7 separate regions of the Homo sapiens genome follow, and all the other regions are linked to region 7. The links are contacts of gene promoters, found by promoter capture Hi-C in blood cells and fetal thymus (Javierre and others, 2016). All regions are on one chromosome and are shown on one strand. Each heading gives the region's core, a stretch centred on a gene start or on the middle of the fragment in contact. The rest is flanking DNA. Distances are from core to core; before and after follow the strand shown.

What was found. The method cuts DNA at HindIII sites, captures the fragments that hold promoters and counts their contacts. A CHiCAGO score of 5 or more calls a contact.
Region 1: a contact is called between the fragment with the promoter of LIN7C here and the fragment with the promoter of ARL14EP in region 7, in 5 of 17 cell types (non-activated CD4 T cells, total CD4 T cells, total B cells and 2 more). The highest score is 13.5, in non-activated CD4 T cells.
Region 2: a contact is called between a fragment that was not itself captured here and the fragment with the promoter of ARL14EP in region 7, in 1 of 17 cell types (total CD4 T cells). The highest score is 5.6, in total CD4 T cells.
Region 3: a fragment that was not itself captured here is called in contact with the fragment with the promoter of ARL14EP in region 7 in 3 of 17 cell types (activated CD4 T cells, non-activated CD4 T cells and naive CD8 T cells); the score reaches 7.8 in activated CD4 T cells.
Region 4: a contact is called between a fragment that was not itself captured here and the fragment with the promoter of ARL14EP in region 7, in 1 of 17 cell types (total B cells). The highest score is 5.0, in total B cells.
Region 5: a contact is called between a fragment that was not itself captured here and the fragment with the promoter of ARL14EP in region 7, in 3 of 17 cell types (non-activated CD4 T cells, total B cells and activated CD4 T cells). The highest score is 5.8, in non-activated CD4 T cells.
Region 6: a fragment that was not itself captured here is called in contact with the fragment with the promoter of ARL14EP in region 7 in 1 of 17 cell types (activated CD4 T cells); the score reaches 6.3 in activated CD4 T cells.

The regions. Positions count from the first base shown.
Region 1 is chr11:27,505,217-27,508,826 of GRCh38, forward strand. LIN7C (lin-7 cell polarity scaffold C) reads right to left here and starts at 1,553. Exons shown (of 5, transcript NM_018362.4): 1 at 1,500-1,553. The coding sequence starts at 1,536. It overlaps BDNF-AS (BDNF antisense RNA), which reads left to right and starts at 1,636. Exons shown (of 7, transcript NR_033315.1): 1 at 1,636-1,682. RefSeq lists enhancers at 1,114-2,313, 1,470-1,599, 1,670-1,959. The HindIII fragment of the contact is 9,378 bases long and covers 1-3,610 here.
Region 2 is chr11:27,693,661-27,697,523 of GRCh38, forward strand. The region is part of intron 1 of BDNF (brain derived neurotrophic factor); the gene reads right to left. It overlaps BDNF-AS (BDNF antisense RNA), which reads left to right. Exons shown (of 7, transcript NR_033315.1): 7 at 3,818-3,863. Among named protein-coding and RNA genes, the nearest start is that of BDNF, 4.9 kb to the right of the region's middle. The HindIII fragment of the contact is 220 bases long and covers 2,032-2,251 here.
Region 3 is chr11:32,887,829-32,891,423 of GRCh38, forward strand. No RefSeq gene overlaps it. Among named protein-coding and RNA genes, the nearest start is that of QSER1, 3.2 kb to the right of the region's middle. RefSeq lists an enhancer at 3,334-3,595. The HindIII fragment of the contact is 5,575 bases long and covers 1-3,595 here.
Region 4 is chr11:27,478,413-27,482,418 of GRCh38, forward strand. LGR4-AS1 (LGR4 antisense RNA 1) reads left to right here. Exons shown (of 4, transcript NR_131170.1): 4 at 3,796-4,006. Among named protein-coding and RNA genes, the nearest start is that of LGR4, 7.6 kb to the left of the region's middle. The HindIII fragment of the contact is 1,169 bases long and covers 667-1,835 here.
Region 5 is chr11:32,587,477-32,591,035 of GRCh38, forward strand. It overlaps EIF3M (eukaryotic translation initiation factor 3 subunit M), which reads left to right. Exons shown (of 11, transcript NM_006360.6): 3 at 1,118-1,256; 4 at 1,536-1,659; 5 at 2,071-2,165. Among named protein-coding and RNA genes, the nearest start is that of EIF3M, 5.4 kb to the left of the region's middle. The HindIII fragment of the contact is 1,687 bases long and covers 1,182-2,868 here.
Region 6 is chr11:27,359,382-27,362,989 of GRCh38, forward strand. It overlaps CCDC34 (coiled-coil domain containing 34), which reads right to left. Exons shown (of 6, transcript NM_030771.2): 1 at 3,455-3,608. Among named protein-coding and RNA genes, the nearest start is that of CCDC34, 2.0 kb to the right of the region's middle. RefSeq lists a silencer at 1,641-1,935 and an enhancer at 3,228-3,608. The HindIII fragment of the contact is 3,738 bases long and covers 305-3,608 here.
Region 7 is chr11:30,321,825-30,325,702 of GRCh38, forward strand. ARL14EP (ARF like GTPase 14 effector protein) reads left to right here and starts at 1,280. Exons shown (of 4, transcript NM_152316.3): 1 at 1,280-1,378. It overlaps ARL14EP-DT (ARL14EP divergent transcript), which reads right to left and starts at 1,122. Exons shown (of 2, transcript NR_187437.1): 1 at 1,094-1,122. RefSeq lists enhancers at 942-1,547, 1,060-1,309 and a silencer at 1,380-1,509. The HindIII fragment of the contact is 9,349 bases long and covers 1-3,878 here.

The sequences.
Region 1 (3,610 bases), core at 303-2,802, 2.8 Mb before region 7:
AGCTACTCGGGAGGCTGAGGCAGGAGAATTGCTTGAACCCGGGAGGCAGAGGTTGCAGTGAGCCGAGATCGCGCCACTGCACTCCAGCCTGGGCGACAGAGCAAGACTACGTCTCCAAACAGCAACAACAAAAACACAAAAGACCAATACGTTAGAATCTTAACTAGCTTTCAAAGAAAAAACTTACTCCTGTTAACACCAAACAGATTTGCTCCCATCTATAAAACACAGTGCCACTGTGCTCAAGAGGAAGATGTCAGAGACTTAGGCCTAACTCGGCAAGTCTTCCCAGAGTAGCTAGTCCTCTAAAATGATGCTTTAATAGGCTTAACGGAAACAATCTCATTTACAGTGAGGCTTCCAAATGGTGAACACGGTAAAGAGCAAATCAGCAACATTAAGTGCACATTTGTTTGTGGGAAGGCATTAGGAAAGAGGTTTTTCTAAGTACAGTAATTCTAAAAATGTGTTTTCTTAGGGAACAATAGTAATATTTAGACTAATTGCAAATGTTAATATGTGCAATATAATTTCAGTCTCCATCCTACATATACATTTTTTTTTACCACCAGTACTCAAAATGTTTATTTGTACTTCTCAATTCCTATCAATGATTTCTAATGCTGGTGTATGAAAAGCATGCTTGAAATTGTTTGAAATAAAGGACTTAGGGACAGAGTGGAATGCTGGAAATCTGTAAAAGGACTGGAAACGCTGGAATGCTGGAAATCATGGTAGGCGCATAGCCAGTTATTTTCGTAGGCTTCTCTATCTCTAATTACTCAGCAGAGGTGGTTTTATTTTCCTTGACAGTCTGCTCTAGGAAGCAATCAGCCAACCAGTTTGCAATTGTAGGGTTTGTAAGAAATGAAAAACACTGCACCTGCAAGTGTTTTAGCATCTACCACTATTCGGCTTACTTACGTAACCTCCTTCCCAAGACCAAGTCAGTAGGATTGTTTTTAAAGCAACCTCTCCATTTCTAGGAGGGGCACAAAAGCTAGCAAATACCCCAACCCGAATACAAGCGAGGTTGTGGAGAAAGTAATGAAGGAGTTTGTGTGCAAACAGCGGGGAAAGGAGGTTCTGTTGAATTGTACCGTGTGTCCGTTCTCGTGCTGTACAGGCAATGAGTGTAGTCTGTGCGAACCGGGTGTGTGACGTTTGCTTTTCGGGTGTACGGGTCTCCGAATGCTGCTTCTGCTGTGCTCACCAAGGGAGCGCGTGTGCGGCGTGTGTCTGCGAAGCGGGCAGGTTGTGTTTAGTTGTGCTGTGCCTTGGAACAGTCCGTGTGAACAGAGGAGGGCTTACGGTTAACAGACAAAATACCGTAAGCGCCCTTCCTAGAGCCAGGCACAGAGACAACGGCGGCCTCTGGCGCCGGCACAAGGGACAGCGTGGCCCGGATCTCAGAGCCTGGGTCACTCCTCCTCCCCTCCAGCGACACAGCACTCCCCCAACCCTTCCGCCCACCTCCGCCGAGCCTCGGCTGCACTCACCTCTCTCCAGCCGCACGGGTTCCCCTAGCGCCGCCATCTTCTCCCTTAACCTACAGACCCACAGGAAATGACGACAGAAGGGCTGAGGTGGGGGGGCGGGGCCTAGGGGAAGCCGGAAAAGTGAGTACCGGCTAGTATCGCGAGATCAGGAAGGTGGCCGAGTGTGTCGCCGCGGCCATCAGGGTAAGGGTACCTGGACTTGCGGCTTTTTAGGTCGGCCTGGCTCCGCTCCTTCCGCGGTGACGAGGTCCCCCGGCCTCCTAGGGTTGGGAAGAGCTGCTTTCCTGACTCTCGTTCCCTGCCTCAGGCTTCCCTTATCCCAATCGCTTCGAACCCTTGGCTCAGCGTAGAGGAGTCAAGCCTGGATTCTAGTCCCACCTTGCCCATTAGCAGCTCTGTGACCTGGGACTGTTCACTTACCCTCTCTCAGCCTCAGTTTCCGCATCTGTACAACGAGAGGTCCTATCTCTTAGGTCCTTACAATTTTTAAACTCTGGGATTCGGTGGCAATTAAATGTGTAATGACATGTTGTCAGTTCTCAATTTGTGACAGCATTGCTTTAAATTTAAAAATCCACGGCTTGAATCTTCCCTCCAAATCTGTTAAGGGGTGGAAAGTACAAAGAGCATGAAACATATCTGGGTGAGGGAGAGAACAAGGTGCTTTGGTGCACCACAAAGTAACAATTTTATAAGCAGCTGATTCTTATAAAATCTTAAGTAAATGAAATATTGTGAAGCAAATAATATTCTTAATGCATTACAGATTTTTGAGCCACTTCTGAAATTTTCGCGAACCAAGAAGAATTTTAGTACTTGGATTTGACTAACATTTATCCAAGCCCTTAGTCTGTACTGATACTGTGGTAGGTGTGTTTACATCCAGCATTTCAACACTTCATGATGGGACTGTTTTAATAACCTGTTTGCCCCTGGTCCACCCTTTCCATTCACCTTTAGTATTTTCTTCTCCAAATCCATCATGGATGCCACCACTATGCTCCTTTTTCTCCCCTTGAATTCTGATTTCATCATCACAAGTTCTGTTCAGAAACTTTCAATGGTTTCTCTCCTGTTTCCTATTTCTAAAGCCTTGCATACTCTGACCCTAACTCATCCAACTAACTTCATTTCTCATTACCACTAAGTGCAACCACCACTTCAGTCCAGATAGTATAGTTTCAACCATATTTATTCCTGATTCCAAGTCTTTTTGTTTGTTTTAGAGACAGAGTTTCTCTCTGTTGTCCAGACTGGAGTGCAGTGGTGCAATCACAGCTCAAGAGAGCCTCCTGTCTCAGTCTTGCCAGTAGCGAGGACTACAGGCAAGCACCACCATGCCTGGCAAATTTTTAAATTTTTAGTAGAGATGGGGGTCTTGCTATGTTGCCCAGGCTGGTCTCAAACTCCTGAGCTCAAGCAGTCCTCCTGCTTTGGCCTCCCGAAGTGCTGGGATTACAGGCGTGGGCCACTGTGCCAGGCTCCAAATCTTCATTTGTGTTGTTCTTGTGTGGAATGCCCTTCTTCATCCCTTCCTAGTCTCCAAACTTTGTACACACTCAGTTGAACCCATTTCGTGGGTCCCTGCTGAAGGCATGCCACTTCTACCAAGCCTTTTCTCCATATTATTCCCCTTTTTTGTCCTCTGATGGCCTAAATACGTTGCAGTAACACTCAGGTGCTTATCTCTTACTCGTTGTCATTTTTTTTTGCTGCAAATGTGTTCAAGAAATGTTTATTAAACACCTAATATATACCAGGTGCCTTGATAGGAATACCAGGTAGAGCAAGACAAATGCAAACATTGCCCTTATTTCTTCAAATATTTTTTCTTTCCATTCTCTTGCTCCTCTCCTTTGGTGTGACTATTGGAGTCATGTGCATGTACATAATATACATGTATATTGAACTAACTGGCATTGTCTCACAGCTCAGTGACGCTCTGTTCATTTTTTTTTCAAGATTTTCTTTATGTTTCCTTTTGGATAATTGCTATGTTTTCATATTCATTAATCTTTTTTCAATATCTAATATTGAAATCCTGTCCAGTTCATTCTTCATATAAAACATTGTAGTTGTTGCCTCTACCAGTTTGATTTGGGTGTGGGTGT
Region 2 (3,863 bases), core at 892-3,391, 2.6 Mb before region 7:
CAAATTTCTCGACCTTCAGATTCTACATGATGTAAAAGAAGTTTGTCTGTGTTTAAAAACACATTCAAGAAATAAGTGAACATGTGAAAAGACAGAAAAACTTGTTTTAATTTGGGCATAGTTTCAGTTTTCAAAGGCACATGAAGGCAGAAAGAAAGAATCACAAAATGGAACTACTGATGATAGCAACTCCAAAACCAAGACTGATTAGACTAAATCCCATGTGGCAAAAATTTTATTTAGTAAGTTTCCTTCTCCCTCTCTCCCTTTAGATATATGTGCATACACACACACGCACCTTTATTTTAGTAATTTTTTTTTTCTGAAAAAGAAAGTTTTCTGCACCTGATTGCTTCCATGAATAACACAAAGCACAAACAATATGACTTTCTTTGGTTATCATGCAATTTTTTCTCTGCTTACCAGAAATTGGCACAAATTTAAGATATACTATATTCTACTCCCTGAAGCACAGTCGCTGGCATCTCCACTGGCATTTAAAAATTTGAAGACATTTAAAAGAAAATCCACAAGCTTATAGTTGCTGTCTAAATCAACTTTAACATTTCATATATTCACAATTTCATAAGTGAATCAAATTACACATAAGAAATTATAGAACTAAGCCAACTAAATGACTTTTATAATAGGTACTGGGGAAAAATATTATTAAACCTTTTCCTCCAATTTCTGCCTTTCTTCCAGCAAGACAAACCATTTTCATGAAGTTTCTGTCTACATCACTAGTGATAATCTGAAGCAGCCATTAATCAATCTATTAGTGCATTCAGCAACATTTATCAAAGTGCCTCCCCAGAACTGTTTTGGATGCTGTTGTGGGCGCATGCAAAAATGAACTAAATATAGATTTTTGTCATCCAAGAATTTTAAGTCAATTTGTAATTATTGGTTCCTGGTTCCATAACTTTTTTTTTTTTTTTTTTTGGTGCTGGCTCAGATGTATACCTTCATCTATTCTAAGGTTAAGGCAATCCTTATAATTTTCTTCCTTTTTCTTGTTTGTTTGTTTTTTGTGTGTGTGTTTAAAATCTTGCTTATATTTGACTTTATTTTATTCTCACATCTTCTGAGTACATTAAAGTTAAAGGTAGATCATAAATCGAAAACATTCTTAAAGGTCTCTCTACTCAAATTATTTGGTGTTATTGTATCTCAGAAAGTATAATGAATTGCCTGTAGCAAATAAATAAAATCAGAACCTTTATACTCAATGGTTCGGTTTGGTACATATCCATGAAAATAATAAATGTTAAAAAGGATGCTAGCCGTTGATTCCTGGCATGCTATTCTACATTTGGCTACATTACAACGTTAAAAGGATTTAGTGCATATATCAAATTGTGGATCTGCTTGTTTTAAAATTTCATCTGTAATTCCACATGCAACCCCCACCCCCATACACACTCACAAGATCTGAATATGGTAACAAGGAAATCCTAGTAACTGTAGCGTTGGAAAAATGGTTCATATGGAAATAAGCCATTTGGCTAGTAAAGCTGGTGATTTTGTTCTCTAGGTGGCACTATTACTTCAATTTTTGGTGAGTTGCTTAAATTACTTGGAACTGCCCGTTTATTTTCTTTGAATTCCCATTTTATAAATTTTAATTTTATACAAGCTAGTTGTAATTAAACGACAGGTTGCCTTCTAGGTTTTATTTCAGTAAGTCAATTTGAAGTTCAGTGATTTTTTATCATATAATTTTATGTTTCCTTACTATACTGTCTTAGTTTTAAGAAATCCTCCCTTGCCTGACCTCCTCTCTCCAAAAATGCAGAGGCATGTCAAAAACACAGAGGGTCGTCATAAAGTTTCCGTCAGACCAAAGGAACCAAGATGAAAGCATGTTTAAGAGCTACTAGGTTCTGGGAGATTTCAAAATCAGGACATTACTACCATGACAACCAATGAAAAGTTCTTTCAAGTGAACCTTTGGGGAAAACTATATAACGTTCCTTACTCTCTAGGCTCTCTGGAAATAAACTTTTACTTTATTATGGCTGTCACTAAAGCTTGTAAATTTACTTTGCTTCCTTCCAATCGTTCTCCTGTCCCACACTCAGCCCCCTAACTCACTTAATGCAACCCATCCTCAAACATCAATCTATAAATGAGACATCAGGGCAATGAGCCACTTCTTAGCATCTAGTATATTTGATAAGATTTGTCTCATCAAGAGGATAAGTGCCCTAGAGCTTCTACTTGAACTTAAATACTTAATTTAAATGAAAGCTTCCACACTTATCTGACCAGATACTCAAATTTTTCTACAGAAAAGAGAATACCTTCCTGTTCCACTTAAAGAACACACACATTTACCACTCCCCCTCCTCTCCCCTGCAAAAGGTTTTCAATGTCAGTACATTAGTGAGCTCCATTTTGCATCTGCCATCAATAATGATTCCATATAGTCAATAATTGGGTTCATGACCTTTCTAAATCTTTACAGTGTAAATATTCTGGAAATCCAGTGAGGCACTTAAGTATAAAATTATTTAGGATTAAATAATTCTATGCCTTAAGTAGAAGTTTAAGAGGACGTTTAGGACACACATGACTAAGCCTACAAATACCAAAGCCACTCTATGTTTCCTAGGTTTAAATACCACATGCAAATAACATACGGATTTCATTTGCCAGCATCATTTATTGCCTAACATTACTCCATACTAAACAGAGTAAATGGATGCAGAGTGTAACCAGTAAGTTTGCTCATTCACTTTTGAAGCTCATCTGTGCATGTTATTCATCCTAATAAAGAAAATTTATCACAACACAACTTGATGCGATTCTTGTTCAAATGATTTCCTCTTCCATTGAACAACAGCCAGCACTTAAAACCTAGAATTCCACAGAATTCTCTCCTCGATTCCTCTTTAAAATGCAATTCACAGTTTGAGATCACAGAGCCTGCCAGTGGCTGAATGGCTGCACTAGATGGCTGAGAGTCCTTCAATTAAGCAACAATTTTGCAATTAGTGGAAACTGAGTGCTCTATAACAATTGTTTGAAAACAAGTTGAGACAAGTTAGCAATTACCCTATAAAAGGGACATATTCACTTTTGTTGGATAGGCGAGACCCCTCACACAAATTGAACTCTTCCACACAGGGAGATGCAAGTTGAAAATTAATGTTTTAATCACTAAAATCAAATCCATATTATGGGCACCTGAAATGGGAGTGCCTTTCTTCTCAAAAGATATTCAGAGTTTAGCTATCATCCACTCTCTATGCTGTCTGTTTTTATTCAGGAAGTCTGAAATTGTTCTTCTGTACTCCGGGATTAATTTCCTACATCTCAAAATGTTAATAAACTACTTGAACATGACCTTTCCATTCTGTAAATTTCCTTAAGAGTAAGTCTACGATTGAGACCCAAAGCTGCTGGCTGTGTTATATTTCACAGTTCACAGTTCTCTCTCTCTCTCTCTCCCCCTCTACACACACGCGCACGTGCACGCACACACACACACACACACACAGAGAGAGAGAGAGAGAGAGAGAGAGAGAGAGCACCCCAGGTTTTAGAAGATGAATGTAAAAAGAATGTAAACAAGTTCTCTGCTATACTATCAGGTGGGCGTGCCCAGCTCACTGTGCGTGCTGAACTACAAACCAGTGCTATTCATATAAGAAATGATATCAATCATCTACATTTTGACTATTGAAAAGCTGGGACTCTTAAAGATTCCAGGAAAAAGGGAATAGCTTACATTTTCATGGCGCCCCTTTTAAACAGGAAACCCACGGACTTTGAGCCAGGATTTTAGAAATTTGCATTTCTTTTTTTACAGGATTTTCCCTCCTGGTGAGTCAAAATGAACAAGAAATACCCCAGGA
Region 3 (3,595 bases), core at 429-2,928, 2.6 Mb after region 7:
CCACACCGTGGAAACGGATGCCAGCAGGTTGCCACTGTTGGCTCGGGCAGCCTGCTTTTATTCTCTTATCTGGCCCCACCCATATCCTGCTGATTGGTCCATTTTACAGAGAGCCGATTGGTCCACTTTACAGAGAGCTGATTGGTCCGTTTTGACAGGGTGCTGATTGGTGCATTTACAATCCCTGAGCTAGACACAAAAGTTCTCCACGTCCCCACTAGATGAGCTAGATACAGAGTGCCCATTGGTGTATTTACAATCCCTAAGCTAGACGTAAAGGTTCTCCAAGTCCCCACCAGACTCAGGAGCCCAGCTGGTTTCACCCAGTGGATCCCGCACCAGGCAGCAGGTGGAGCTGGCTGCCACTCCCACGCAGTGCTCCACACTCCTCAGCCCTTGGGCCTCCGATGGGACTGGGTGCCATGGAGCAGCGGGGCGGCGCTCATCGGGGAGGCTCCGCCCCACAGGAGCCCACAGCAGGGGGTAAGACTCAGGCATAGCAGGCTGCAGGTCCCGAGCCCTGCCCCCCGGGGGAGGCAGCTAAGGCCCGGCAAGAAATCGAGCACAGCAGCTGCTGGCCCAGGTGCTAAGCCCCTCACTGCCCAGGGCTGGCGGGGCTGGCTGGCAGCTCCGAGTGGGGGGCCCGCCGAGCCCACGCCTACCCAGAACAGGCACTGGCCCGCAAGCGCCCCGGACAGTCCCGGTTCCTGCCCCCGCCTCTCCCTCCACACCTCCCCTCAAGCTGAGGGAGCCGGCTCTGGCCTTGGCCAGCCCGGAAAGGGGCTCCCACAGTGCAGCAGTGGGCTGAAGGGCTCCTCAAGTGTGGCCAGAGTGGGCGCCAAGGCCTAGGAGGCGCCGAGAGCAAGCGAGGGCTGCCAGCACGCTGTCACCTCTCAGGACTACAGGTGCACCACCATGCCTGGCTAATTTTTATTTCCTTTCTGATGTTTTAATTTAATTTATGATGTTGACCTAAGAGATGGAAACCAGGGCTGCTCTGGCAAAGACAGGGCTTATAGTTTCCCTCAATGCCAGAAGAGAAGGGAAAAATTTAAAACCATATCTTCTTTCCCTGTTCAAATCACTTCTCACACACATATTCCTTGTATTCTCAGTGAAACCACAAACTTGACCTTCTTGGATCTTTCTTCTTGATGGTTGGTCTATTTATAACATAGGAATGTGTGGACTTACTGACTACATTTCTAGTTAGGCAACCCCAAATTCTGCATTTCCCAACAAGCTAATGAACAAGGCCACCTCAGTGAAGATGGGGTTTCCTGGGTCTCACCCCAACTGATTCCCTCCATCATCTTAAAGCAAGTCACTCAATACCAGGCCTCAGCTTCCTCAACTACAAAAGGAAGGCAATGAACTATGTACTCAATAGAACTACAATCTTTCTACCAGTTGAAATACTTATTTTCTTTTTTTTTTTTTTTTGAGAGGCAAAATCAATTACTTCCTTTTCAATTGTCCTCTGGTGCTTTATTCCAATTTCTATTATATTTAACACTATCCTATTGCATTACAATTAGTTGTGTGTCTGCCTCTTTTCCTCATAAATTACAGGTTCCATAAAGACAGGCGTTGTATTAAATTTACCCTCGTATTCACAGCATTTAGTATTATGCTTGGCACTGTATTAGGCTCTAAATACATATCTATTGAATGAATAAATATGTAAGCTACTTTAAAAATGCCCATTCAGGCTGGATGCGGTGGCTCATGCCTGTAATCCCAGCACTTTGGGAGGCTGAGGTGGGCATATCACGAGGTCAGGAGATCGAGACCATCCTGGCTAACACGACGAAACCTCGTCTCTACTAAAAATACAAAAAATTAGCTGGGCGTGGTGGCGGGCACCTGTAGTCCCAGCTACTCGGGAGGCTTAGGCAGGAGAATGGCGTAAAACCCAGGAGGCAGAGCTTGCAGTGAGCCGAAATCGCGCCACTGCACTCCAGCCTGGGCGACAGAGCAAGACGCTATCTAAGAAAAAAAAATGCCCATTCAGAAGTTCCAATTAGTCATTTACATATTCCTTTCCTTTCCCCCCCAAAAAAGAAAAACCAAAACACTCTATCTCAATTCTAAAATCGGGGCAAGATTTGAAAATTGATTAAATCAAAGGCAGTTTGGTTTTAAGATGAATTGGAGTAAATCCTACACTTAAGAAGGAATCTTCCAGCACTTTGGAAGGCTGAGGTGGGAGGATTGCTTGAGGCCAGGAGCTCAAGACCAGCCTTGGACACCATAGCGAGACCCTGTCTGAAAAAAAACAAAAAAAACTCTTTCCTTCTTCCTCACCTCCATCTCCCACTTCCTTCTGAGTTTATTGTCTAGAGTTAGTCATGCCTTAGAACATGCCCATGAACAATCTCCCCACATTTTCCACCCTAACTCCCATCCCATTAGAAAATCAATACGTATTTCACAGGTCGCGGTGGCTCACGCCTGTAATCCCAGAACTTTGGGAGGCTGAGGCAGGCGGATCATCTGAGGTCAAGAGTTCGAGACTAGCCTGGCCAAAATGGTGAAACCCGTCTCTACTAAAAATACAAAAAAATTAGCTGGGCGTGGTGGCATGCGCCTGTATTCCCAGCTACTCAGGAGGCTGAGGCAGGAGAATCGCTTGAATCCGGGAGGCGGAGGTTGCAGTGAGACGAGATCACCCCACTGCACTCAAGCCTGGGCGACAGAGCGAGACTGTCTGAAAAAACGAACAAACAAAAACACGGGACCAACAATGCTCATTCTAGAGTTTGACATTACCTAGATCAGACTTGAAGCAGCTTGGTTACGAATCATTTGAGAGATCCCGAAACGTTCACAGAGCTGGAAGTATATTTTCAGTAGGGAAGAAGACATTCTTCAGATAGTATCATCAAGTGTACAAAATTTTTAAAAGATTTATTTACATATATCAAAGCATCACATTGTACCCCATAAATGTATGCAATTATGATTTGTCAATTAAAAATAGTATTGATAAAAAATGTAATGATGTTATTTGTAGACATGTAACATTTGAAAATAAATATAATTGTACTGATTTAGAGTGAACTAAGGAAATTTCATTTAAATGGCAAAGGAACATATGGTGACAGAGTAATATTACTAAAAATACTCACTAGAATTTTCCCTTAATATCTTTCCCTGATTTATGTGACATAAACAAACTACATAATGGTGTGAGGGACTATAAAGGTTTTATTGCCACTTGTTTGGTATTGCCTGCGTAACTCACTCTGAGTGCCAGTTGTGGGTATCTCAAACTAAGTGTCATAAAACATTTATAGCATGCCACTCCATTTCCTATACTTTTCATAGAGACAAAACTTTAGCGCTCACAAAAGTACTTATAAATATAATAGCTAGTTGTGAAAACTTTTTAATTTAGATCCCACATTTCCAGTTTGCAGGAAGAAAAATAAATGTAATGAAGATTTACGTTACTTCTCTGCATGAACTCAGATTAGTTCGCAAATTCCTTTTCAAAGAAAAACCACTTTTCAAAGATATCCTCAGTAAATGCATTTTGTAATTAACATAAAATTGGCAAAGTCGCTGTGCCTACACGTTTGAATTCATGTGT
Region 4 (4,006 bases), core at 1-2,500, 2.8 Mb before region 7:
CCTCCAGAGTAGCTATGACTGTAGGTTCACACCACCATGCCAGCTAATTATTATTATTTTTTTGTTGAGACCTAGTATTGCTATGTTGCCCAGACTGGTCTCAAATTCCTGGCTTCAAGGGAGCCTCCCACCTCAGCCTCCCAAAGTGCTAGGGTTATAGGCATGAGCCATCGTGCCCAGCCTACTGATTGTTTTGGAAACAATTTACGTGATTATGTAAAATTCAGAGAGACATACCTCAAAGGGTAACCATCTTTTCTTGCAAGTTAAGATCACGCACTTTCTTTTCTTTCTTTTTTTTTGAGACGGAGTTTCGCTCTTGTTGCCCCGGCTGGAGTGCAATGGCGCGATCTCGGCTCACCACAACCTCCACCTCCTGGGTTCAAGCGATTCTCCTGCCTCAGCCTCCCAAGTAGCTGGGATTACAGGCATGCGCCACCACCCCAGCTAATTTTGTATTTTTAGTAGAGATGGGGTTTCTCCGTGTTCGTCAGGCTGGTCTTGAACTCCCAACCTCAGGTGATCCGCCCACCTCGGCCTCCCAAAGTGCTGGGATTACAGGCATGAGCCACCGCGCCCGGCCAAGATCAAGCACTTTCAAAATTCCAGTCTCCATGATGACCTCATGCTGAAGATTATGTTGCAGAATGAGCCAAGCAGAGTGCAAGCTTAAAAATGCCCTGCTTTCTGGAATGAAGGACACAGAGGGAGTCCTGGGCACTTAGAGTTTACCTCACCCTTTGTGTAAAAGGCACCCTAAATATTTTTGACCCAAATAATAACATAACCTGTGAGAAATAGTTATCGAGCTTAAATAAAAGCATAGGTGCCAAAAAGCTACCTGAAGTGAGAAGCTGGCTATACATTAAAAATATACATGTATCAGCCGGGCGCCGTGGCTCATGCCTGTAATCCCAGCACTTTGGGAGGCCGAGATGGGTGGATCACGAGGTCAGGAGTCCAAAACCAGACCAGCCTGACCAACATGGTGAAACCCTGTCTCTATTAAAAATACAAAAATTAGCCCGGTGGGGCAACGTGCACCTGTAGTCCAAGCTACGCAGAAGGCTGAGGCAAAAGAATCGCTTGAACCCAGGAGGCGGAGGTTGCAGTGAGCGGAGATCGCGCCACTGCACTCCAGCCTGGGTGACAGAGTGAAACTGCATCTCAAAAAAAAAAAAAAAAAAATATATATATATATATATATGTGTGTGTGTGTGTGTGTGTGCGCGTGTGTGCGTATATATATATACACACACACACGTACATACATACATACATACATACATGTACCTATGCTGGGTGCAGTAGCTCATGTCTGTAATCCCAACCTTGGGAGGCCCAGGCTGGCTGATCACTTGAGGTCAGAAATTCGAGTCCAGCCTGGCTAACGTGGTGAAACCCCATCTCTACTAAAAATACAAAATTGGTGGGTACCTGTAATCCCAGCTACTGGGGAGGCTGAGGCAGGAGAATCGCTTGAACCTGGGAGGCAGAGGCTGCAGTGAGCCAAGATCATGCCACTGCTCTCCAGCCTGGGCAATAGAGTAAGACTCTGTCTAAAAAAAAAAAAAGAAACTATGTGTGTATGTGTATTTATATGCATATAAATTTATATACATATACATATAAATACACACACAAAGATTTGTATACATAAATGCGTAAATATACATACATAAATATTTCAAGACATGATAGGGTTAGGGAATAAAGAAAAGAATATCAAGTCTAATCCCTACTGATCAGATATCTTACATGCACCTACTCTAGTGAATGAATCTTCAAGGTAGTGCATAGTTTCTAGGCTTTGATGCCTCCATATTTGCATGGGAAGCTTTGGGATGGAAGAGCTTTCACATTAAGCCCCAGAGGCTTGCAGTCATTCTATCATGGTCTCAAATAAGATACTTTTACACACCTTATCAACATCTCTAGTGTGGTCCTATTGGACACAGGAAACAGCATCTAATTTTTTAGGGCTAATTGAAAACAATGATTTATTTTGAACAAAAAATAACAATGTAAAATTGTCGACAAATTTTAAACATCCTTTTAAGCTACACAAGTGACCAAATTTGGGCTCTGGGCCCTCTTTACTGTACCTAGAGCTCGAGCAAGGGTGAAGGATGGCTGGGAGCAGCACATGCCACTTGTGTAGAACTGATGGGACCTCTGGGATGCGAGGGCTCGTAGTGAGGCTTCTGGCACGACTGGTTGAAGGCCATTCTTGAAGACAGCCCTTTTTCAAAACATCACCAAAAAGCATCTTACTCTTTTGAGCTGGTTGGATACTACGGGGTTAGATAGCCTTTCAATACTTCTGAAGACCCATATTGACCCAAAATTTGAAAACATTTGGATAAATATCAGAAATATGGAAATGCCTAATCTTTTCATTTTCTTTTTTCTTGTTTGTTTTTTTCGAGAGAGTTTCGCTCTTGTTGCCCAGGCTTCAGTGCCATGGCACAATCTTGGCTTACCACAACCTCCGCCTCCTGGGTTCAAGTGATTTTCCTGCCTCAGCCTCCCGAGTAGCTGGGATTACAGGCATGTGCCACCGTACCTGGCTAATTTTGTATTTTTAGTAGAGACAGGGTTTCTTCCTGTTGGTTAGTCTGGTCTCGAACTCCTGACCTCAGGTGATCTGCCCGCCTCGGCCTGCCAAAGTGCTGGGATTACAGGCGTGAGCCACCGTGCCCGGCAATGCCTAATCTTTTCTAAATCTGATTTTCTTTTCCTGATCTTTCCCTTTCAATTCTAACACAAGAGGAAAATGAGACTCAAGGGAGCAACTTCTGAATTACAGAACCACATGTGGGTTCGTTCCAAAGTCTGAGTGCATAAACTACTGGTGAGAAATAGAAGTAGGCAAAAATTAAATGATTCTTAAAGAAACTAGATGTTATAAGAAAAGAGATAGAAAAGTAAAGGTAGAAAAATCAGAATAGAAAAGCAGGAAGATTACCACCTGGTCAAGCTGATAATTTGTTAAGACCAAAATACCAACACGAAGTTCAGCCATGGAATTGGGTAGTTTTCACTTCCTCAGAATCCCAAATAAAAGTGAACATTTTAGAAAGATCTTAGCATGACACAATTATTTCAAGAAACTACATGCAAAATCTGCGCATGCCCTGATGATGTGTAATCAGAAAACCAGCACTTAGGGTGGAGTAGGGGGCTGTGGTGGTGGTGGTGGTGCTGAAATGTTCTGAAAAGCTCTTCTTTGTCTACATCAAATATTTTGAAAGAAATCTGAAATGGAAAGAGGAAATTAAATGTAGACCCAAGGAGAAATATTGGGTAGGATGTGGAGGGAAGACTCCATATTCTGTAAATTGTCTTTTTCCTAACTAGACACCAAATACTGTCTCAAAAAAAAAAAAAAAAAAAAAAAAAAGACACTCTTAAATACCTGTTTGCTAATTCCCAAGCTGTTAAGTTATTTTTGTCTAGTGACAGCTACCATGGCTATCTTCAAATAAGAAAAGCGGCAGCCAGAATGAAAAGGTTAACAATCCAAAAGTTTTTGAAAATGTCTTTTAATTTTCAAAATAAAACACCCTGAAGCAGTGCTTTTAAAAACACAGGCAAACTGCCAGTCATTTGTAATTTCCAAGATTACTTTGGAAAGGGGCAAAGCAAAGAAAGCTTCAAGGCTGGGTTAGTGGTGCTGGGTGTCAGGATGATGCTGAAGATGGTATTTTCTAGGACTGGTTGGCAAAATCTGGTAATATCTGCTAATACCTCTCTCTCTCTCTCTCTCTCTCTCTCGTTCTCCCTCTGCCTCAGGCTAATGTTAAAACATACTTCGTGATCTGTAGAACGTAAGAGAAAATTTAGAAAATGTTTGATATGAAAGAGAAAATGAAGGATGTTGCGATAATAGGGAAAAACTTTATAGTAATTCTACCAATTTGCCCCTTTTATTCTAAAATAACACAAACTTGTCAAGCTTTTCAACATTTTTTGAATTTTTTTTTTTTTTTTTTGAGATGGAGTT
Region 5 (3,559 bases), core at 775-3,274, 2.3 Mb after region 7:
TGTTAACCAGAGTCTAAGCACTGTTGTTTTCAATCTTACCTTCACACATGCTTTCAGTTTGTGTAATCTATTATACCTATAAAGTAAACCTATTTTGAGAAAACCTTTATTTTATACATAGGTGTATTTCTTAAGTGTTATTACACTAAATGCTTATAGTCTTAGAATAAAATGAAAAAAATGAAGCTCTTTCCTGTTCATAAGTTTCAGATTAACATCAAATGGGATACAGTTTCAAGTAATCTAATAGCCATTTAATTATTAGGCCAGTTTCCTGTTTATTGAGATAGAATGGGAAATTTTCAGAATTGTTGAGTTCGGAAATCTCTAGTTAAGGTTTAGAGATCAAACTTGGATGCTGATTTCGGCAGCACATATACAAAAAAATTAGATTAAATTTGGGATATGATTAATATCTGTAATACTTAAAAATAACTAATTCAAGCAGAGAGCTGACAGCTTTAATTTCTGATTTCCTATATGTATACACAAAGTTTTCCTTAATTAAGAAAGTATCCTAGTCCTAAATCATACCAGTAACTTCCAAATGATTGAATATCATGACAGTGAAAATTGAAACTTTATATACATGTAAATCAGTCTCTGTTTTACTAGTTAGAAACCACATCATAGGCCAGGCATAGTGGCTCACGCCTGTAATCCCAGCACTTTGGGAGGCCGAGGCAGGTGGATCACATGGTCAAGAGTTCAAGACCAGCCTGGCCAATATGGTGAAACCCCGTCTCTACTAAAAATACAAAAATTAGCCGGGCGTGGTGGCGGGTGCCTGTAGTCCCAGCTACTTGGGAGGCTGAGACGGGAGAATCGCTTGAACCTGGGAGGCGGAGGTTGCAGTGAGCCGAGATCGCACCACTGCACCCCAGCCTGGGCAAGAGAGCAAGACTTCATCTGAAAAAAAAAAAAAAAAAAAAAAAGAAACCACATCTTAGGTATCAATTTCCTTCCTCTTTAATAAAATATACAAGTTGCTTTCTGAATGCGAAAGTGTCTTACATTTGATGGTCTTCATTGTATTAAAACACTGGAAATGCATATTTAACTAGACGCATTGAGTATTGTAGTATCACTGTTGATTGTGTTATCCATACTTGTGTAGATGTTGAAAGTGTGATGAACAGTGTGGTATCCCTACTCTTGATCCTGGAACCAGACAAGCAAGAAGCTTTGATTGAAAGCCTATGTGAAAAGCTGGTCAAATTTCGCGAAGGTGAACGCCCGTCTCTGAGACTGCAGTTGTAAGTTAAGATCTGAAAGAAACTCAGTTTTTCTAGGTGCTTTTTTCATGTTACTAACTTTTAATGGTGCAGAGCAGGAATTCTGGAACTTGACTCTCAGCTGTGGCTCATATTAGCTGTGACCTTGGGCAAGTGGCTTGACCTTTCTGTGCCCTAGTTTCCTCCTTTGTAATATGAAGTTGTTAACGGTACCTGCCACAGGTTTGTGGTGAGAGCTAACCTCAACTTAAAACTGGTTGCTGATTTCAAACATTGTTTATTTGTTTGTTAACCAACCAGGTTAAGCAACCTTTTCCACGGGATGGATAAGAATACTCCTGTAAGATACACAGTGTATTGCAGCCTTATTAAAGTGGCAGCATCTTGTGGGGCCATCCAGTACATCCCAACTGAGCTGGATCAAGTGAGTTACTGTGTGGAATAGTTGTTCTGCTTATAAGAAATGTACTTTTTTTTTTTTTGAGACGGAGTTTCACTGTTGTTGCCCAGGCTGGAGTGCAATGGCGCAATCTCAGCTCACCGCAACCTCCGCCTCCAGGGTTCAAGCAGTTCTCCTTCCTCTGCCTCCTGAGCAGCTGGGATTACAGGCATGCGCCACCACGCCCGGCTAATGTTGTATTTTTAGTAGAGACGGGGTTTCTCTATGTTGGTCAGGCTGGTCTCGAACTCCCGACTTCAGTTGATCCTCCTGCCTTGGCCTCCCAAAGTGCTGGGGATTATAGGCGTGAGCCACCACGCCCAGCCAGAAATGTACTTTTATATGTTATACTTTATATGTGTTACTCAGTTTTCTCCTTTTGTCAATCTCTTGTAGGTTAGAAAATGGATTTCTGACTGGAATCTCACCACTGAAAAAAAGCACACCCTTTTAAGACTACTTTATGAGGCACTTGTGGATTGTAAGAAGAGGTATTCAAAAGTAATGAACTAACATATCACTTAACAGACAGTATAAGTAGGTGGGGATGTTTTTTAAAGAGAAGTAGGGCCAGTAATTTTGCTTTACTCTGTTCTCCACAGAGTTGCTATAAATCTATTTCTATAAATTTGACCTAAAGTTAAAGATAACTATAAAGATTAAAAGTAGTTTTCCCTCATCTTTGAACTTTTTAAAAAGTGAAATTTGGCTTTTTTTCTAAAAAAAGAAAGGTGGGGCCTTTCCAACATGGGCTTCAACCTACTGCTGTAGCATGAGCTTGGTGAATGTGGTGAAGCATCTCATCATTTTTGGATGGTGCAGTGGCAGACTACAAAAAACTTTGTGTTAATGTAAATATTCCATCTCTCCACCCATGTCCTTCCTCTTGCTTATCACACTCTAGACCCAGCGAGCCTATGTCAGGTATAAAAGCACCATGCTCTTTGCCAGTCTGGACCAGGAGCTGGCACTGGTTCTTCTATAGCCCGTGTACTAAGAATGGTTTTAACATTTTTAAATGATTGAGAAAGAAAATCAAAGAAAGGGTAATATTTCATGATATGTGGACATTATATGAAATTCAGATTTCAGGGTCCATAACATTGGTATTACATCCATGCCTATTCATTTACATATTGTCTGTGCCTGCTTTTGCCAAGAGTTTAGTTACAACAGATACCATATAGCTTGCAAAGCTTAAAATATTTACTCTCTGGCCCTTTATAGAACGTTTGCCTACCCCTTGTCTAAGTAGTCTTACTATAGTCAGCTTCATGTCTCTGCCAGAAACACCCCTCTCATATTTCGGTTAGTGCCTCCCTTTTACAGCACCCTCTACTTGTATCCTAGCATTTAACACCCTTAGTTGAAAGTAAGGTTGTAGGCTAAGTGAAGGCAAGGAACCTCATCTGTAAACCATTGCATTCCCAAGAAGATAGCACTTATTGGGCACTGAGTGGATAAATGCTACCCACAGTAGGGAACTGGAAGGGGATACTTGTTTAAACACGACATTTCTGACATTCTGCCAATCTAAATGTTGAGAGTTGGTTTTCTTCTTTAGAACACATAAAATACATATTTTAATCAGTAAAATTCTGAGATTTTACCTAGCAGTTAAGTAAAAATGCTTCAAGTTTATGGGTGCCCCCTTCATGACTTTATTTATATTGGTGGTTGATGCACATGGTGTTTGTTGTGCTTTTTTTTTTTTATTTGAGATGGAGTCTTGCTCTGTCGCCCAGGCTGGAGTGCAGTGGCGCAATCTCAGCTCACTGCGAGCTCCACCTCCCGGGTTCATGCCATTCTCCTGCCTCAGCCTCCTGAGCAGCTGGGACCACAGTTGCCGCCGCCACGCCCGGCTAATTTTTTGTATTTTTAGTAG
Region 6 (3,608 bases), core at 924-3,423, 3.0 Mb before region 7:
TTTCTTCCACCTCCGCATAAAGTCAGATTAAGAGCTTAGATTTGGGCGTAAAACAGCCTGGGGTGAAATCCTATCTGCTTCTTCCTAGCTATGTACATTTTTTTTCTTTTTTTTTTCTTTTTTTTGAGACGGTGTCTCCCTCTGTCGTCTAGGCTGGAGTGCAGTGGCGCGATCTCCGCTCACTGCAAGCTCCGCCTCCCTGGTTCACACCATTCTCCTGCCTCAGCCTCCCGAGTAGCTGAGATTAGAGACGCCCGCCACTACGCCCAGCTAAGCTATGTACATTTTTTAAAAAACTTCTTTAAGCTTCTGTTTTCTTGTCTATAAAATGGAGATGACAGTTGTGGCTGGCTACCTTACAGGCAGAATTGCATGAAACTATCCATGCTAAAGCACTTAATATAGTTCCAGGCACTCAGTAAGTACTTAGTAAGTCATTTATGACGAACTCCTACTGTCCCTTCAAAATTCAACTCCAGCACTGCCTGGAGCCACAACTCTTGGGCTTCCTGTCACTTGCTCATCTCTGCCACAGGTCATGAGTTCCTTAAAGAAAATATATCTCAACTCATTTTTTTATTTCAAGAGCCTGGCTTAGGGTCTAGAATATAGTAGGGTCCTAGGAAACAGTTGTTGAAAGACAATCAGATCAGTGGGCTTTTCTTTTAAGAAATGACACTTTGAATATTAAATTTCCTTCCTTAATATTTATAACAAATGTGTTCAAAATGTGTGGCGCACACACTACAGCTCTACTTATAATCAAGAAAGGCTTGACAAGTGGCCATTTGTGAACAAGATATTTATTACAGCATGGTTTTCCTAATGGATAGTGGTAGAAAAACCAGGATAAAGCTGAATAAACAGCAGGCCCAGAGCACATTGTAAAATATTCCAGGAAAACGCTTCTCATTATCTTGTCTGAAGCTAACTTTGAGCTTAATCTCAGTTCTGACCAATACCCTTGAAGGTCAATGCATCCTCTAAACATGGCACTATTTATACCAAAAATACCTTGAGGTAATATCCATTATGTGCAGCTGATGCCTGAGCCTAGCTCAAAGAAGCCTTACCCGATTCGTTTTGCCAGTCAGATCAATATGGCAGGTGAGGCATGGAGAAAAGGCATAAAATCCCACACAGCTCTAGGTTGCTCTCTGCTTCACACAGAATACTCAAAACCCAGAACAATGAAAGGGCTGACTCAGGTTGCCTGCTCTCTTCATCCTGTCACCCCCAAGCTGTCCAGGGCACCAAAGAGAGGTCAGCAGTTTGACCTCAAAAGCCAGATTGTGGACTCCAGAACTCTTATCCCAAACCTGAACACCAGAACGTGGTTTACTGCACCTTAGTAGTACCTGTGGTTGGTTATTCTGAAAACATACTGATTGCTAGTGAAGTAGGTTGTAGTAAACAGGTCACTTTTTATAACACAAAGTGCTGAAGCACAGAGATTAGCAATGTCAACCTCAGCATGTGGAGACATGGTTAGATAGGATCTGAGCATGCACAGAGGAATGGATGTCATTGTATCAAAGAATGTTAGGACCAATGGAGAGAAAGAATGAGGAAATTTTCTAAAAATCTACCTTTCCTGAAAGGAAGTGCTAAGTTTCTGAAGCATTTGACAATAATCACTGCATGTATCTGTTCTTTAGGAAGTGGGAAATGGACATGCAGTCAGCAAACGTTTATTGAGCACCTAATAAGCATCTGACACTTGCCACACACAATGCTTGACAACTTCAGCATTCTCTTTTCAAACCCACGTCCCAGCTACTCCTTTGATTCATAGGGACTGAAATGTGATAAGGAAGGCAGCCTTAGCCCTGTGGTGCTACCAGCTCATTCTGGCTTTGGATAAGTGAGACGTACATACGTTCACCTCCTCCCCTGGCAGGCTCCACTTAGTCAGGGCTTTGGCTCTTGGAAACTAATGCAAGGTTTCAGTAGCTGAGCTATAGTTCCGATGGTCATTTATTCCGCAGGTCACTAACTTGTGTCCAGATTGCTTAGTCCAGTTGATTATGCTCAGAAAGTATTTCCTAAAGCCTTCAAATTTACTTTAAATACCTTTGAGACCAACTCAGTCCTGAAGAATACCTACAAAGGCCCAGATGAAAACAATTTACTGAAACCCTAACTCTACCATTAAATTTTACTATCAGGTTGATCAGAGGAGGCCTGTTTCTTGTTGCTACAACCAGCCTGGATGAGTGGCTTGCTTGGTTACTCTTTCTGATCTCCATTCCCACCAATGTACTTACTTTTACTTCTCATTCGTAACTAATTCACTCCTGTAACCATGTATACGGGTTACTTCATATGGGTTCCATATTCCATTCACTCATGCTGGATATGAACACCCTGTACTGAAGGGGGAATCTTGCTATTTACACATAAAGCATGAGTTCTCTGGCCTGTATTTCTTAGAGCTCCTGTACTGTGCCTTACACAGCTTGACAATCATAAACTTGTAAATGATTTCCGAAGAAAACGTAATGAGTCTATCCCAGAATAGACCTGCATTACTGGGCCTGTCTCAGAAATATTCCTTCAGGGATTGGCCCTTTGCTCCTACTTCTGTATACCCAATACTAGGCATGCAGTTTAGGAAAGAGAACATGATCTGTCTATCTTCGTAGTAGACCCAGGTCTGCTAATAACTAGGTGCATGCCTTTGAGTCACTTTTTGCATTCTGAGCCATGGTTTTATTATCTGTAAAATAAGTGGATTGATTTAGGCTTCAATTCATGAGAGTAGAGACCAGTATCTTGTTTACGGTCCCCAGTACGTAGACTAATATGTGGCAAACAATGTTTGCTGAGTGAGTAACAGTAGAAATAAACAAATTAAGACAGTTTTAATAACCCCATTGGTCCTAACATTGATACAATGACATCCATTCCTCTGTGCATGCTCAGATCCTCTCTAACCACGTCTCCACATGCTGAGGTTGACATTGCTAATCTCTGTGCTTCAGCACTTTATGTTATAAAAAGTGACCTGTTTACTACAACCTACTTCACTAGCAATCAGTATGTTTTCAGAATAACCAACCACAGGTACTACTAAGGTGCAGTAAACCACGTTCTGGTGTTCAGGTTTGGGATAAGAGTTCTGCAGTGCACAATCTGGCTTTTGAGGATTCATAGAACGCCTGAAATGGTAGCAGAGTTTTGTGTGTTTGAGACTATGTACATTTTTCTGGGAAGTGAGACTGCAGCAATCATAATATCTCAGGAAAAAAGGATTAAGAGCCATAGGAAATCTATGGTCATTTGCAAGAATTTGCACAGGGCTCTTTATGTGCAAAAAAAACCACGGCACCTCAGTCTGCAAGTGCCTGCTCTGCCTTTGGGGCGGAGGGCAGGAGGATGTTAGAAGGGGGTACTTAAGAGGGTCTAAGGAATCTTGAAAAGGGCTGAATCGGCCGGGCGGCCTCGGGTTTACCTGGCGCACCCCTGTAACTCCATTCCTCTCAGGCTCGCCACTTTGGCCTCTGAATCATGGGCATCTTCATCCACGTCTTCCTCATCATCCACGTCTTCCTCATCCTCCCCGTCACCGTCGTCCTCGTCAAACTGGAAGCTCTGGTGGCCAAGGG
Region 7 (3,878 bases), core at 30-2,529:
CTCTTTCACCTTTTCACTGGATACTTAAATTGAATAGGCTATATTATTTAATAATCTTAATTTGATCTGTGAGCCTTCTCTGTTTCATTACCTTTAGGATAGCTTGCCTAGTTTACTAGGAAGTCACAATTGCATCAAATTAAGTTCCATGCAGGCATTAATCTCCTCCCAGAACGCTCCTGCTTTAGCCCCTATCATTTTATCCTGTTTATATCCATGTGTTTCTGTTATGACACTTTTCACACCACACTGTGATTAACTGTTTATTCCTCTCTCACTAGTCTGTGAGCTCCTTGGAAGCAGAAATAAATTTTGTTTTTGTCTAATCATTGCTTAACAAAGTGCCAACCACAAAGTAAACAGTAAAAGAATTACAGAATGCAACCTCCTGCAGACACAGTTGAAGAAACTATTCATTGTTTTTTCCTTTCTGTCATTCCCTAGTTCTAGGCATCAAATCGCTTGCCTAGTCGGCGAGCAGTATGAAAGTGGTGGGAGGACCATAGACGCACTGCAGAAAACAGCTTACAGTAGATGCAGAGAATTACTAGCACGCTTGGGCCTTGGTGGGGCTTGTCTTATTTACCTGTTCCTCATTTTTCACTGGGAGTTTAAAACAAGTTTTTGTTTCCCTGCTATCCCGACCTTAAGATAATTAAAAGGCCAAGAATCTTTAAGAGACTTTCAGTTCTCCTGGATTCTAGATAATAAAACCCACTTTAAAAATTAATGAGCACCTATACTGTGACAGACAATAAGGATACAATAAAAATACCATTTCTGTTCTGAGAAAATTTACAAGCATCTTCCTGGAGCCTACATTTTACTCGAAGTAATAGCTATTTTTATAGCTTACAATAAAAGATGCATTTTGGAATATATTTCGCTTGAATTAAAGAAATAGAATGTGAGACCTTAAACAAAGGGTCCGTTCTTCAGATCCTTTTAACTCACACTCTCCTTCAGGGGTCGGGGTATTTGGGTGCAAAAGTTTACTATCACGCACAGGTGTAGAGATGTACAAATACGATCCAATTTAGTGGAAACTGTGTCTTGTAAGAGATGGCCCCCAGGGACCTCCCACATCCCTAACCTCTCGGAGGACTGCAAAAGACAGCATCTGAAGCACCTCTTGCCTCGCCTTGAATCATTTGCCACTTCACACCGCCCCGCCCCTTCCGTCCCCGGAGGCGGCCAGCCTCGTGTCCGCTCTAGGCTTCTCCCGGACGTCTCTTTGTGGTGGCGTTGAGCTCCTCTAGCCCGCGCTTGCCGTCCTCTCAGTGGTAGCGCGGGGACTGGCTGGGAAGCGGTCGGTCGAGTGTGGCCTGTGTGGACTCGCATCTTGCCCGAAGCCGGGCGGAGGAGAGCTCAAGCTAAGGTGGAAGGGGAACGGGGGAGGCCCTGGAGAGGAGTGGGAGAGTGGAGACAGGCCCCTGGGTGGCGAGGGAGCCCGGCGGCGTAACGGGGGAACCCGGGGAGAGGTGGAAGAGGAGGCCCGCACACGTGAGGGGGATTTCCAGCTGCTGGCCGGGGCCTCTCACCCCTACCCCCGCGTAGTTCATCTGCGACGCAACGCCTTGTGTCAAAGCCCAGCACAGGTTCTGCCGCCTCTGACCTCTCTGAGGGTCGTCGCCTGTCCTGTAGGCCCAGGACCTTCAAAGCTACGATTTTGACGTGAACTACTTAGGGTTATTGTGGCCTTGAACTCCGTAGACAGCCTTTATCTCTGCTATTTTTGTTTTTAATTTTTCAAATCAGAATCCTTTCAACCCTGGCCGTTTGAGGCCAAAGGCTAATGTTTATTTTTCCATCCCGGTACCATGAACTTAGTAGGTGCCCACTGGACGGATCTGGTGGTTTTAGTCATTTGTAAATAGCCGTGAACTAAGGAAGAAATGTATGTGGCCTCTTACAGGGTTGGGTTGGGAATCATTGCAGGGTTTGGGGGCACTCTGTTAGGCATGATAACAACAGCTCTAGGCTTGAGTTTCTTCATCTGTAAATGAGAATGATAGTACTTTCCTCAGGGTGGCTATGAAGGTTCCTGAAATGATGTTTGCCCTAAGCACTGTACCTGGCATGTCCTGACTACCACACTTGAACCAAATCTTTTCAATGGTGTTATGGACTATATTTTTGTTTTAAATTGCCTTTACCTTTCTTATTGTACCTAGATCTTCCTGAGGATTGAGACTCTCCTCTTTGCCTTTGGGCCAATTGTCATGTTATAGGTAATCAGTATTTGAAGATGACAGGCACAAAAAGTTCACAGTTGCAGGATGCGTGACTTTTGTAGGCGTATGTACCCATAACTAAAGCTCCTGATTTGGGGAGTAGGGGTAGATTAAATTATATTTTTATTAAATAAGAGATAATCTGGGAAGACGCTGTGTAAGTTGTAAGACCCTATGCCAAGAAAAGCCTTTAATTTTTTTCATAAAACATTTCATGAAAACTTTTTTTATGTTTTTCATAAAAGAGACATCAGTTGACCTAAAAACGAAGTAAATTTTTTGTTTTGTTAAATTTCCTCTAAATGTTACTTTTCCCACTAATAAGGAGACTGGTAACAAACTAAAAAACTATGTTAAGGGAAATTAACATATTGGAACGGGTATTTCTGCATCTCCCCTACAAATTTAGGAAGAAAAAGTGAGTTCCCTAATTAATCCTCAATTCCCTCTGCTGTTGTTTTGTTAGTGGCTGTTTTGCTGTTTTGTTAGTGGTGGGGGGGGTGTTCTGCATTAACACCCCGAAACCCCTGTGATAATGTCCTAGACCTTGCAAGCATCATGGCCGCGTGTGAGTTTTCTCAGCTTCCTCAACCTAATCTACCTTCCTTACCGTTTGGTAATGGGCAGCAAGAGAAAATGCTTAAGAACTCTTTAAAACTACTGATGTTTTAAAGTAAAGCTGGATAATTCCCTGAGCTGGCAGCGTTCAAATTGTATGAGGAGCAAATACTTTTGTTTACTGCCTAAGGTAGTAGGAGAGGTCTAATCAAAGTATTCTACATTTATTTCATTCTCTTTTGATTCTTAGGTAGTGCTACAAAAATATTAAATGTTAATCTTAGAATACAAAACATGCTGTATTTAGGCACTAAAGTAAAGTGATGTCAATCCTAAGGCAGCAGAAAGTCTTAATTTTCTCCTATGCAGAATTTTTAAAAGACAATGTCAGATAAGAAATCTGGACTTAGGAGAGACTTTATTCAAAAGGGTTATCACAAAAGGAGAAAAGGGACTTTTGCAATGGGTAGAACCAAAAGATCTGCAAGAATCTCCAAGGAGTGAACTGTGCTAGAAAGTTTTGGTGTGAGGAAGTAGGATATAAGGGTGGCTTGATCTAATAGTAGATCTGAGAATGTTATTCCTTGGCTCTGGCTGAGAGTTGGCCAAAGCTCAGGAACCTGGGGGAAGGAGAGAAACTAAAGTTTGATTAACAAGTATTTTGTTCCACTTGATCTGTAGGGCCAAGCAGATCAGCAAATTATTCATAAATTCATAGTTGAAGCAAAAAATGAGAATTTGGAGGGTCTTTCTTTTGCCTGGTCATAGGTAAACAAGGGGGGATCCTTGAGTCTTACCTAACTCAAGGGTGGGAGGATTTTTTAAATTATAGCTAATAAGGAGCCAGCACAGGGCTCAAGCAAAATTCAACTTGCCAAAAAGTGTTTTTATTATTTGACATTGAAAAGTATTGAAAACCTGGATTTTATTTATACCATGGTGAATCTTTCTAAAACTGGGGTTTTTGTTATTGGTTTGCTTGTTATCCTATAAGAAGCTGGATTTTTTTTCTTCCATGAAGAGTACTAGGTTTTATATTGACCAAAGTGTTTGGAGCAAATTAATCTTTTCTTGCGTTAAAAGATT